Regions from separate parts of the Homo sapiens genome. Here region 2 is linked to region 1. The links are contacts of gene promoters, found by promoter capture Hi-C in blood cells and fetal thymus (Javierre and others, 2016). All regions are on one chromosome and are shown on one strand. Each heading gives the region's core, a stretch centred on a gene start or on the middle of the fragment in contact. The rest is flanking DNA. Distances are from core to core; before and after follow the strand shown. Region 1 holds the start of RHO (rhodopsin). Region 2 has its middle 20 kb from the start of SNORA7B.

Region 1 (5,368 bases), core at 640-3,139:
TGTGTGTGTGTGTGTGTGTGTTTAGCAGAAGAATGCATCCTAATGTGGGGCAGAGTTCCTTGTTGGGAAGGAATGCAGAGGTGGTGGAAACCCAGAATTGGCAGTCCTTCCTCCCTCTCCCTTCTCGGGAAATGAAATAACCCGGACATGTGGGGGCCTCTCCTAGGAGCCATGAAGCAATGTGCAATGTTTTGCCCAGAGGAAGAAGAAGGAAATGATGGAATTCAGACATCTGTCCTGCTCACCACCCCATGAAGTTCCATAGGGAGAGTGGCCATATAGTTAATCAACCAAACTGGGACATTCCTAACAGTGAAAGGGACAATATTTGTAAACTGGGACTGACCCTGCAGAGAACAACCACCCGTAAGTGGCACACCCACCTTCTGGCCAGAACTGAGTGATCTGTGATTATTGAATGCAACAAACACCCAACAATGGCCAGAGATTCCCTGAGAATGGGACCGAGGCAGCAGCCTGGACATGGGGGAGACAGGGCAAGGCTGGCAGAGAGACGCTTGTGGCTGGCGGTAAGCTCTCCCCGTCACCCAGCTTTGCAATGGCTGCTTCTAGCGTCTCCTCCTGCATCTCAGCAGAGATATTCCTGGATCACAGCCAGGAGACCTAGGCTCTTGTTGCTGCCTGGCCACATCCCTAAATGAGTCTCTTCCCCTCTCCCTGCCTCAGTTTTCCTCTCTGTTAAGTGGGATCTGTTATCCCTGCAGCACCCCATCTGTTTTCCTGTTAAATGCAAGACATTATTCTAAAGCAAAAAGGAACTGCTTCAGAGCGGCTGCTTGCGGTTCTCAACACCAGGAGACTTGGAACGCGGCAGGGAGGCTGGAGGGGCACCTGAGGACAGGGGCTGAGAGGGGAGGCAGAGGATGCCAGAGGGGACCGAGCCCATTGCCCAGCACAGGGAAGACCCAATGACTGGAGAATGGAAAATCCACTTCCCACCCTGAGCTTGGGCCCCCAGAGAGGAGGGGTCTGGCTTGCCCAGCTCTCCCTCAGTGCCCAGCCTGGGTCTGACTCAGCACAGCTGCTCCAAGGGAAACAGAGGCTTGGTGCTGCAAACATGGCCCGAGATAGATGCGGGCTTCCAACTCAACTCTGCACCCGTCCCTGTGTGACGCCCCAGCAGGGCGCTTGACTTCTTTGAGCCTCAGCTCAGTTTTCTTGCTGTGAAATTAGACAAGCGCATATTGCTCCAAATAAGATCAAGGCAGTGTTCAGTGCCAGCCCTGCACAAACAGCAGCCCGGCTATCACCATGAATGGTGTTTGTTGACTGAATATATGAGGGCTTTGGATAACATTGACAGGACAGGAGAAGGGAGAAGGCCTCTCAGCCACCACCGCCAAGCCCGGGACTCTCCCAGACCCCTCCATGCTCCCGGGCTCCTGCACACCCCACCCACACCCGGCTCATACCGCCCAGGGTGGCAAAGAAGCCCTCCAAATTGCATCCTGTGGGCCCGAAGACGAAGTATCCATGCAGAGAGGTGTAGAGGGTGCTGGTGAAGCCACCTAGGACCATGAAGAGGTCAGCCACGGCTAGGTTGAGCAGGATGTAGTTGAGAGGCGTGCGCAGCTTCTTGTGCTGGACGGTGACGTAGAGCGTGAGGAAGTTGATGGGGAAGCCCAGCACGATCAGCAGAAACATGTAGGCGGCCAGCATGGAGAACTGCCATGGCTCAGCCAGGTAGTACTGTGGGTACTCGAAGGGGCTGCGTACCACACCCGTCGCATTGGAGAAGGGCACGTAGAAGTTAGGGCCTTCTGTGCCATTCATGGCTGTGGCCCTTGTGGCTGACCCGTGGCTGCTCCCACCCAAGAATGCTGCGAAGGCCTGAGCTCAGCCACTCAGGGCTCCAGCTGGATGACTCTGGGTTCTGACCCCCCCAGACCCTTATAAAGTGACCTCCCCCTCCTAAGCTCCTGGCTGAATCAGCATCTGGGAGATTGGGGGTGTTCATAATCATATTAATCCCCGCTGCAGAAACTGAGGGCCTAATTGGCTTCTAAGAGGGGCCAAGGTGACACTAGGAGGAAGCCTGAGGTCAGGGAGGAGAGGTACTCAGGATCCAGGAAAAGGGAGGAGAAGGTCCCCTAACTTCTGCATGACTTGTCTGTCCCAAGGTCCCAGCTCAGTCTGGTGGCCTGGGTTTGAAATAGGGACCATGGGCCTCTGTGCTATGTCCTCTGGACAGCTAGAGACTTTCTGGTTTATTCTCCCAGTCTCTCATCTCGTCACACAGCCCCTTACCTGTTCGTTCCCCCACAAGTTACCTCTGGAGTCATCCAGTCCCCACACTCCTCTGACAGGAGGAGCTCCATGAGGGCAGGGGCTGCAACCTGCAGCTTCCGTTTCTGGTGCCAGACACATAGCCTAGGGCCCAGGAGCCCAATCCTTGTTGCATGGAATTGGAATTCACTCTCTTGTTCGTTCATTAAACATTTATTTGCAGGCCCCTGGGAATACAAAGATGGAAAGAAACAGCCCTGCCCAGAGGAGCTCAGGGGCTGAGGAGGACTCAAATGTGGGAAGAAGCAGATTCCGTCCAGGGTGGCTGTGAGGTTGTGGAGACAGGGCCTGACTGCCTGGGGGTTGCAGTCTGGGAGGCCATGTTTGGGCCTTTGAGAGAAGGAGCAGTTTGCCAGGTGGCTAGGTGGGGAAGATCTGGGCTGGGGGCAGTTGTAATGGGTCTTGAACGCTAGGCCGGGGAACCTGGCTTTATCCAGAGGAAAGTGAGCAGTGGCTTGGGCAGATCACTGGTGTAGAAAGGTGACTCAAATGCCCCCAAAGATGGAGTGGAGGGAGGGAGGATGGAGGGGGCTACCAGAGCAGGGGAGGGGCAGAACCCTTCAGGGGACTCCAGTCTGAAGGGGAGGCTGGCCCTGGAGGCAGCAGACAGGGCACTGTTGGGGGAGGCCTAATCAGCCACGAGGGCCTCAAATGCCATGTACCAGGTGGCCCCACGAGGGCCGATTCCAGAATAGCAGGATGTACCGTGAGAAAGAAAGTAGTCAGAGCCTTGGGGGCAGATGACTGGGGGAAAATGGAGGCCAACACTGGCAGGTCCCCCTCTCCCCGTCGTCCAAGCAACATGATGACACCTCCCAGGAATGAAGTGGGGTGTCTGGGGCGGCCTGTGCAAGTGCTGAGAGTGCCCGACGTGCGGCCGCTCAGTGACCACTGTCCAGCCAACATGTGTATTGAGCACCTACTGTGGCCCAGACAAGGTGCTTGGTCCTTGGGGACACACAGGGTACACGAAAGAGCAAGCTCCTGCTCACAAGAAGCCAGTGTTTTTGTGGGGTGAGGGGGCACAGGGACCACAAACAAATAGAAGAGCGAATAACAGTAGGGACAGTTCAGTCGCAGCCACTCCCAACACAGGAGGCTTCTCTGAGAAGCTGGAGCTTGAGCTGAGAACGGAACAACAGGAGGAAGCTTCAGGGGAAGGACATCCAGGCGGAAGGACCCCTGAGAGTGCAAAGCCCTGATGCCTGGGAAATATCCCTTAATCTCTCTCTCACTGTCTCTCTTCCCACCCAGGATTCCCAGATCTGTCTGCTCAGAAGAGTGCCCCCTTCCCTGCAGCCCACCTGGGCTCCAGCCCCCTACCTGGCCTGGGTGGTGTTGGGTCTAACAGCGTTTGGCACACGTGGCAGGGCTAAGGCAGGGCGGGTGGGATGGGGCCTCTCGTAGTTTAAGGCGCTTGGCCTGGTGATTATGCCCAACGCTAATGAGGTTAAGGTGAGGGTTTGATTCTGACGTGGACCCTCATGGCCAGAAGGAGGGTGTCCTGGATGCCTTGGGTCAAGACTGACCCACAACTGGCCCCTCCCTGGCCGGGCTGAGCCCCCATCCCACACAGCTTAGCAGTACCTCAGCATCTTGCTTTTTGCATAGTGCTTCTGACAGCATGGAAGCTTTTTATTTGTGTTTTGTGCCCGTCTCCCTGCCTGTAACATGAGTCCACAAGGGTAAGCCTGGGTCTGTCTTGCTCACAACAGGGTTCCCAGAGACCAGCATGGTGCTTGGCCTGTAGTGGAAAGAGGTGGGATGATGTCTGTTTTGTTCACTGATGTGTCTCCAGGGCCTGGCACCTAGAAGGTGCTCCTGAATATTTGTTGAATGAACGAGTGAGTGGGGGAATGGACCTAGATGATCTCAGTACTTCCCCTCTCTGTCTCAGGTTCCTCCTTTGTGAGTTTCACAATTGCAACCTCATGGAGCCCTGGTGATGGGGAACTAACAGCCATCACTGAGGTGACAGTGCTCTTTATTCTGTAAAGCTTGACGAAGAAAAAAAAAGTTTTGAGACAAGGTCTCTGTCGCCCAGGCTGGAGTGCAGTGCCACAATCATAGCTCACTGTAGCCTCTGCCTCCTGGGCTCAAGCGATCCTCTCACCTCAGCCTCCTGAGTAGCTGGGACCACAAGTGCACACCACTAGTTTTTGTATTTTTTGTAGGGGTGGAGTCTCGCTATGTTGCCCAGGCTGGTCCTGAACTCCTGGCTCAAGCGATCCACCCTCCTCGGCCTCCCAAAGTGCCAGGATTATAGGAGTGAACCACCGTGTCCGGCCCAAGAAATTTTTTTTTAAACAAAAAATGCTCTTTGTTCAGGAAAACAGACTCATAGTGAGCTGGAAGGGTCATTCGAAGTCACCTACTCTGACCATCTCTGCTATATCCATTTTGCAGATGAAAAGACTGAGGCCTAGCTCTGCAGAGTTGCTCAGGTCCCGTTACAAATCAGTGACAGCCTGGGCTATAACCCACACAGTCAACTGGGCTTCCTGGGGTATCAGCTTCCCAAACCTGGCTATGCCTCCCTCCCCTCATCAAAGATAGCTCTCAGGAAAGACCAGCCAGCCATTCACACCATGGTATAAATGACTAAAGAAAGGTTTAGCTGGGGTAATGGAAAGGCCCTAGACTGAGTCACACAGGCCTGGCGTGGGGCAGTGGAAGCCTCGAGGAGAGGAGGCTGGATTCTAGCTGGTCTTTGAGTCACCATGGTAGTCCTGCTTCCTTCCCCTCTCTGGGCCTCAGTTTGCTCAGACGAGGAAGCCTCAGTGTGGGGTAGGGGCACACCCATCTATACAGTAAACCTCACCTGCTTTCTCCATGAGAGCCTGGTTCGTGAATCTTTAGACCCTATGGCCTTGGTTTCACTGTTCTCCCTCATTGGGCAAGGCTCTTTTCCACCCACCCTTACATCTGGACTGAGGCTACACAGCCTGGGTGCAGCCAGCTACCCCGCCCTCCCGAGAGTGTGCTTCGGTTCTCCACTCTGTAAAATGGGAATGATAATAGTGCCTACCTAATAGGATTATTGGGAGTGCTTGTAAGTGAT
Region 2 (5,480 bases), core at 405-2,904, 150 kb after region 1:
AGTGACAGCAGGCTTGAGGAAGTGGCTCAAGAGCACCAGTTGCAAAATCTTCTAGGGTTTGAGTACCTTCCAGAGGTTTCCCATTGGTTACTTTGTTATACCCTACGTAAATGAAGGAATGGTCCACAACCATTGTGATTGGTTGCAGGAGGGGACCAATCAGAGGTACTTTTTTATTTTTTATCTGCTATGTAGTGCAAAGGGAGTAGCCTCTGATCCTTTTGTTACTTGGGTGTGAAGAGGTGAGGTTTTCCTTTTGATTCAGTTCTAGGAAGTCAGCATGAATCGGCCTTAGGTTCCCTCCCTCCAGACCCTATTCTCCTGCGTCATGCGGGAACAAGAACGAGTCTGAGTTTGGCCGGGACATCTTCAACAAGGAAAGGCCTTGCCCTTGTTTTAGGCCAGCCAGTGTGCTTCGGGGGCCTGCATCTCTCCTGGCTTCCTGGGCAGGAAAGAGCAGTCACCTGGGACCTCTGTGCTAATGGTTCCCAAATGTGGATGTGGAAGTGCTGTTTTCTCTGTTTGGGGTCTTTATCTTTGAAATTTCCAGTCCCATCTTTTAGTTTTAGTATTGAAGGCAAGTTTTTTCTCTTTAAGCTTGTGTAAACCAAAAGTAAAACTCTAAGCCCTCTGTGCCTCCATTGAATGAACCCCTCCCCTTGGAGAAGGGGAATTCCAAAAAACCCCTAAAAAACTAGTTCCAACCATCATGGGCATAAGGGGTCAGACTTGCCTCATTTTACCCTCCTCCCTTTAGAGTTTAGACACAATAGACCAGTATTAACAAGAAAACTGGGGTCTCAAGACTGACAAAACAGACTCTGTAGCAATGAGGCAGGATAGTACAGTCTGGAGGCAAGGAACTTAAGGCCAATTCATGCTGAATCAAGGAAAAACACCAAGGTCTGGGGGGAAGCAGGGAATCTGAGGCCAATTTGTGCTGACTTCCCAAAGCTGGATCAAAAGGGAAACACCTGGGTCTGGAGGCAGGGGCCCTAAGGCCAGTTAATGCCAACTTCCTGAAGCTAAACCGAAAGGAAAAACCCAGCTCCCCATGCCTTAGTAGCAAAGGGTCAAAGGTTACTCTTTCTACAACCCTCCCCCTTCCACCATGGCTTAGACAAAAAGGGAGAGTGGCTTGGAGTGGCCACAGGCCAAGCAGGGACCATCCCTTCATCTGCATAGGGTGCCATTCACCTCAGTGTTTACTTAGCCACAGACCAAATCCTTCAACTATATAAGGGGTAACTGATAGGAACCTCAAAAGGAGTGCTTGAAACCCAGAAAACTTTGTAACTGGGCCCTTGAGCTGCTCGGGCCCAGTCCCACCCTGTGGCGTACCTTCTCTCTTTTATAAATCCCTGATTTTGGTACTTCGATCCTGTGTTTCATTCCTTTGTTACTTAGTGCATTTTGTCCAGTTTTTTGTTCAAAACACCAAGAACCTAGACAACTTACACCCAAGGCCCTCCTTCCAGTAACAGCAATAGAACACCGTATTTCAACATGATTCTGATATACCATTGATGGCAGTGGCTGCTCCAGATCACTGTGTTTTGGACAATGAAATGTAGCCAACTGTTCAACTGTAGCTCCCAGCTGCAGCAGGGAGACGTGGCTGGGGTTGCACACTCCATGAAGCCCTTCCAAGTTGGGGTGGGAGCTCCCCAGGTGCCACTGCAGCTGCCCAAACCATTGGGTTGCAGACCTGGGCCTCCCACTCCACAGAGCAGGCAGGAGCCCTGCCCTCCGGGGCAGGGCTGTAGCTGCCCAACTTGTGGCTGCAGGTCTGAGCCTCCCTGTGCTCTTGGGAGGCCAGGAGCAAGCAGGATCCCTGCCCTCCCAGGCACAGCTGTAGCTGCCTAAACCATGGCTGCAGACTCAGGCACCCCTGCACTCTTGAGGGCCAGGAAGCATCCCTTCCCCTTGCAGGCTCAGCAGTGCCTGCTCCCATTGCCTGGCTTCTCCCTGCTGTTGTTGCCCACTCCAATCTTGGAGGAATGTTGGGGCCAAGCTCAGGTGTCATGAAGGCAGCAGGAGGCAGACAGATTCCTGGATGGAAGGGGGCCGGTCCCCAGTGAGGCCCCACCTTCAGGCCAGGGAGGGTCTGAAGGCTGGGAACCAAGGCTGCCAGTCTCATGGACTGGACTGGGAACTTGTGGTGCCTTTTCCAGGCCCACCCAAGTACCAATCAGCATACACTTTTTCCCCTCTGAGGCCCATAAAAACCCCAGGTTCAGCCAGAGCTAAGCAGACTATGGGATGACCAGCTGCAGAGAAGAGCTACCCTTTCTGCTGAGAGCTTCACAGGCCTGCAGAGATGTTGGGACTACCAGCTTCAGAGAGGAGCAACCCACTCCAGGGCTTCCTCTCTGCTAGGAGTTCGGCAGATGTCAGGACGACCAGTAGAGAGTGGAGCTACCCTCTCCAGGGGCTCCAATCTACTGAGAGCTGCAGAGACAATGAGATGAACTGCCTGCAGAGAGGAGCCACCCTCCCAGGGCCTCCTCTCTGCTGAGAGCTGAACACTCCACAGGACCACCTGCCTACAGAGAGGAGCTACCCATTGTGGGTCTCCTTATGCCCATGATGGTTGGAACTAGTTTTTTTTCATGACAGCATCATGAAACAGTAGGCCCTTAAGGAAATCAAAGTATTTTACCCCAAAATATATTTTGTTGACATATTTTGAAATGGGCCTGCAAAGCTTTCTCTTGTGTGGGAAAATTTGCATTCTGTAGAGAATCTCCTTCTCTTACTAGGTCTTTTCTGGAGAGGCTGACACTTTTTAAGGTCAGACAAGAGACATTTGCCATCTATTCTCTCTGAAGTTTGCTACCTGAAGGCTTCATCTACATGAAAAGAACCTGGGCTTGGCTGGGCACTGTGGCTGACACCTGTAGTCCCAGCACTTTGGGAGGCCGAGGTGGGTGGATCATGAGGTCAGGAGATTGACACTATCCTGGCTAACATGGTGAAACCCCATCTCTACTAAAAATATAAAAAATTAGCTGAGCATGGTGGTGGGCACCTGTAGTCCCAGCTACTCAGGAGGCTGAGGCAGGAGAATGGCATGAACCCAGGAGGTGGAGCTTGCAGTGAGCTGAAATCACACCACTGCAGTCCAGCCTGGGCGACACAGTGAGACTCCATCTCAAAAATAAAAATAATAATAATAATGTTATCATTAGGATTATCATTATTTGATTCATATTTTTACTACTCAACAAATGTTGAATGATAAACATATACATTAGGCTGGGAGTGGTGGCTCATGCCTGTAATCCCTGCACTTTGGGAGGCCGAGGCAGGTGGATCATCAGTTCAGGAGATTGAGACCATCCTGGCTAACACGGTGAAACCCCGTCTCTACTAAAAATACAAAAAATTAGCCAGGCGTGGTGGCAGGCGCCTGTAGTCCCAGCTACTCAGGAGGCTGAGGCAGGAGAATGGCATGAACCCTGGAGGCGGAGCTTGCAGTGAGCTAAGATCGCACCACTGCACTCCAGCCTGGGCAACAGAGCGAGACTCCGCCTGTAGTCCCAGCTACTTGGGAGGCTGAGGCAGGAGAATGGCATGAACCCTGGAGGCGGAGCTTGCAGTGAGCTAAGATCGCACCACTGCACTCCAGCCTGGGCAACAGAGCGAGACTCCGCCTGTAGTCCCAGCTACTTGGGAGGCTGAGGCAGGAGAATGGCGTGAACCCAGCAGGTGGAACTTGCAGTGAGCCGAGATTGTGCCACTGCACTCCAGCCTGGGCGACAGAGTGAGACTCCATCTCAAAAAACAAAAACAAAAAGAAACAAACAAACAAAAACCAAGCTGTGACCCAGCCACCTTGGGCACATGTTCTCAGGACCTCCTTAGGCTTTGTCAGGCCATGGCCCTTGACCTTAGCAAAAGAAACCTAAGGTGATGGAGACTTGTGTCAAATACTTTTTGGTTTATAGCCATTTACCCTCTGACAGCAAGACGTGGCTGCTCCCAAGAGCTTATCTTTTCCACTGTGCCATCCTTCTCACCTTCCCCTCCTTTAGCCGGGCAGCAGGCATGGGCTGGGGAACAGGTGACCTAGCTCAGCTACATCCTAGGCTTGTGACTTAGGGTAAATCCATTAACTTTTTTTTTTTTTTTTTTTTAGATGGAGTCTCACTCTGTTGCCGAGGCTGGAGTGCAGTGGCGTGATCTCAGCTCACTGCAACATCCACCTCACAGGTTCAAGCGATTCTTGTGCCTCAGCCTCCCAAGTAGCTGGGATTACAGGCATGCACCACCACGCCAGCTAATTTTTGTATTTTTAGTAGAGACAGCATTTCACTGTGTTGGCCAGGCTGGTCTCAAACTTCTGACGTCAAGTGATCAACCCACCTCGGCCTCCCAATGTGCTGGGATTACAGGTGTGAGCCACCGTGCCCAGCCTAAATCCATTAACTTCTGTTTGGATGCCCTGCCCAGCTCAGGCTACCATCGGCAAACAAGAGAGGTGCTCCAGAATTGAGGAAGCACTGGGCAAAATGCAGGCATGATCGTTAACCTCTGTAAGTGGACCCAGGTTCAGCTACATGAGCCAAACATGAAAGGTGAGGGCTGGTGGGAAGAAAAGCAGGTTTAATTGGAGAGCCGGCAAATGGAGATGTCAAACGAGCGTTCTAAAGGAGCATCTTACCTTTTCAAATTGACCATAGGGGTTTTAAAGCGAAACTTGGCATGGGAGATATGGGAATGGTGCAGGGCACAGAGTCTGTGTCTTTGTCCCCATGGCTGTCTCAGGTCATTGCTGGTCTGGAGGTCTGATTGGTGTTATTGTGACTTTGGCCCAATGGTGGTGGACTAATTGTTCATGACTCCCCCTAAGCGGGAGTATTCCACAGAGGCTCCATGCCTGGTTTGTTTCAAGATTCGCCTCTGGGGTTTCTTAAACAAGAGCATAATTAGATAAACATGCATTGCCGGAGAGGAGTGTCTACAGAGGGAAGGAATGAAGGGGTGAGAGTGGAGAGGTGAAAGAAAAACAAAGTAGGTGATTTTTAAAACTGAGGTCCCAGCAGCCAAACAACCACTGGCCTCGAGATAAGCAACATTAAAACCATTTACACTCCTCTAATGTTGACTGACTGACAACCGGCCCCATTCTACCAGCCACAGCTACGGCTTTAATTAAACAAGAGACTGATTTCAGTAACTTTCCCCTGATAAAAAGACCACCGAGCTTGCATTAGTTCTGGCCGGTCTACAAAAATCACACACTTGGATGCCTTTGTGTCCCGAAAAAACTTTTTGACATATAGGGCCTAATTGTAACACATTTAAATGGTCCCCACTCCAAACTGAACATGGGTCATATGTCACATGCGTATTTGTTCAATACACATGTCAGGACCACCTTCACGAGCATTCATAGCTCCTCCCAAAGCCTGTTAAATATGTATAATTAGCCAACCTGTCCTCAGATCCCCACTGGAGCTCTGGGTACAATTGAC

What was found. Contacts are between HindIII fragments. The CHiCAGO score rates a contact against its expected background, and 5 or more counts as called.
Region 2: a fragment that was not itself captured here is called in contact with the fragment with the promoter of RHO in region 1 in 2 of 17 cell types (endothelial precursors and M1 macrophages); the score reaches 6.7 in endothelial precursors.

Annotation. Positions count from the first base shown.
Region 1 is chr3:129,525,160-129,530,527 of GRCh38, reverse strand. It overlaps RHO (rhodopsin), which reads right to left and starts at 1,889. Exons shown (of 5, transcript NM_000539.3): 1 at 1,434-1,889. The coding sequence starts at 1,794. RefSeq lists enhancers at 487-1,212, 1,213-1,938 and a silencer at 4,136-4,336. The HindIII fragment of the contact is 8,320 bases long and covers 1-3,458 here.
Region 2 is chr3:129,374,707-129,380,186 of GRCh38, reverse strand. No RefSeq gene overlaps it. Among named protein-coding and RNA genes, the nearest start is that of SNORA7B, 20 kb to the left of the region's middle. The HindIII fragment of the contact is 2,110 bases long and covers 600-2,709 here.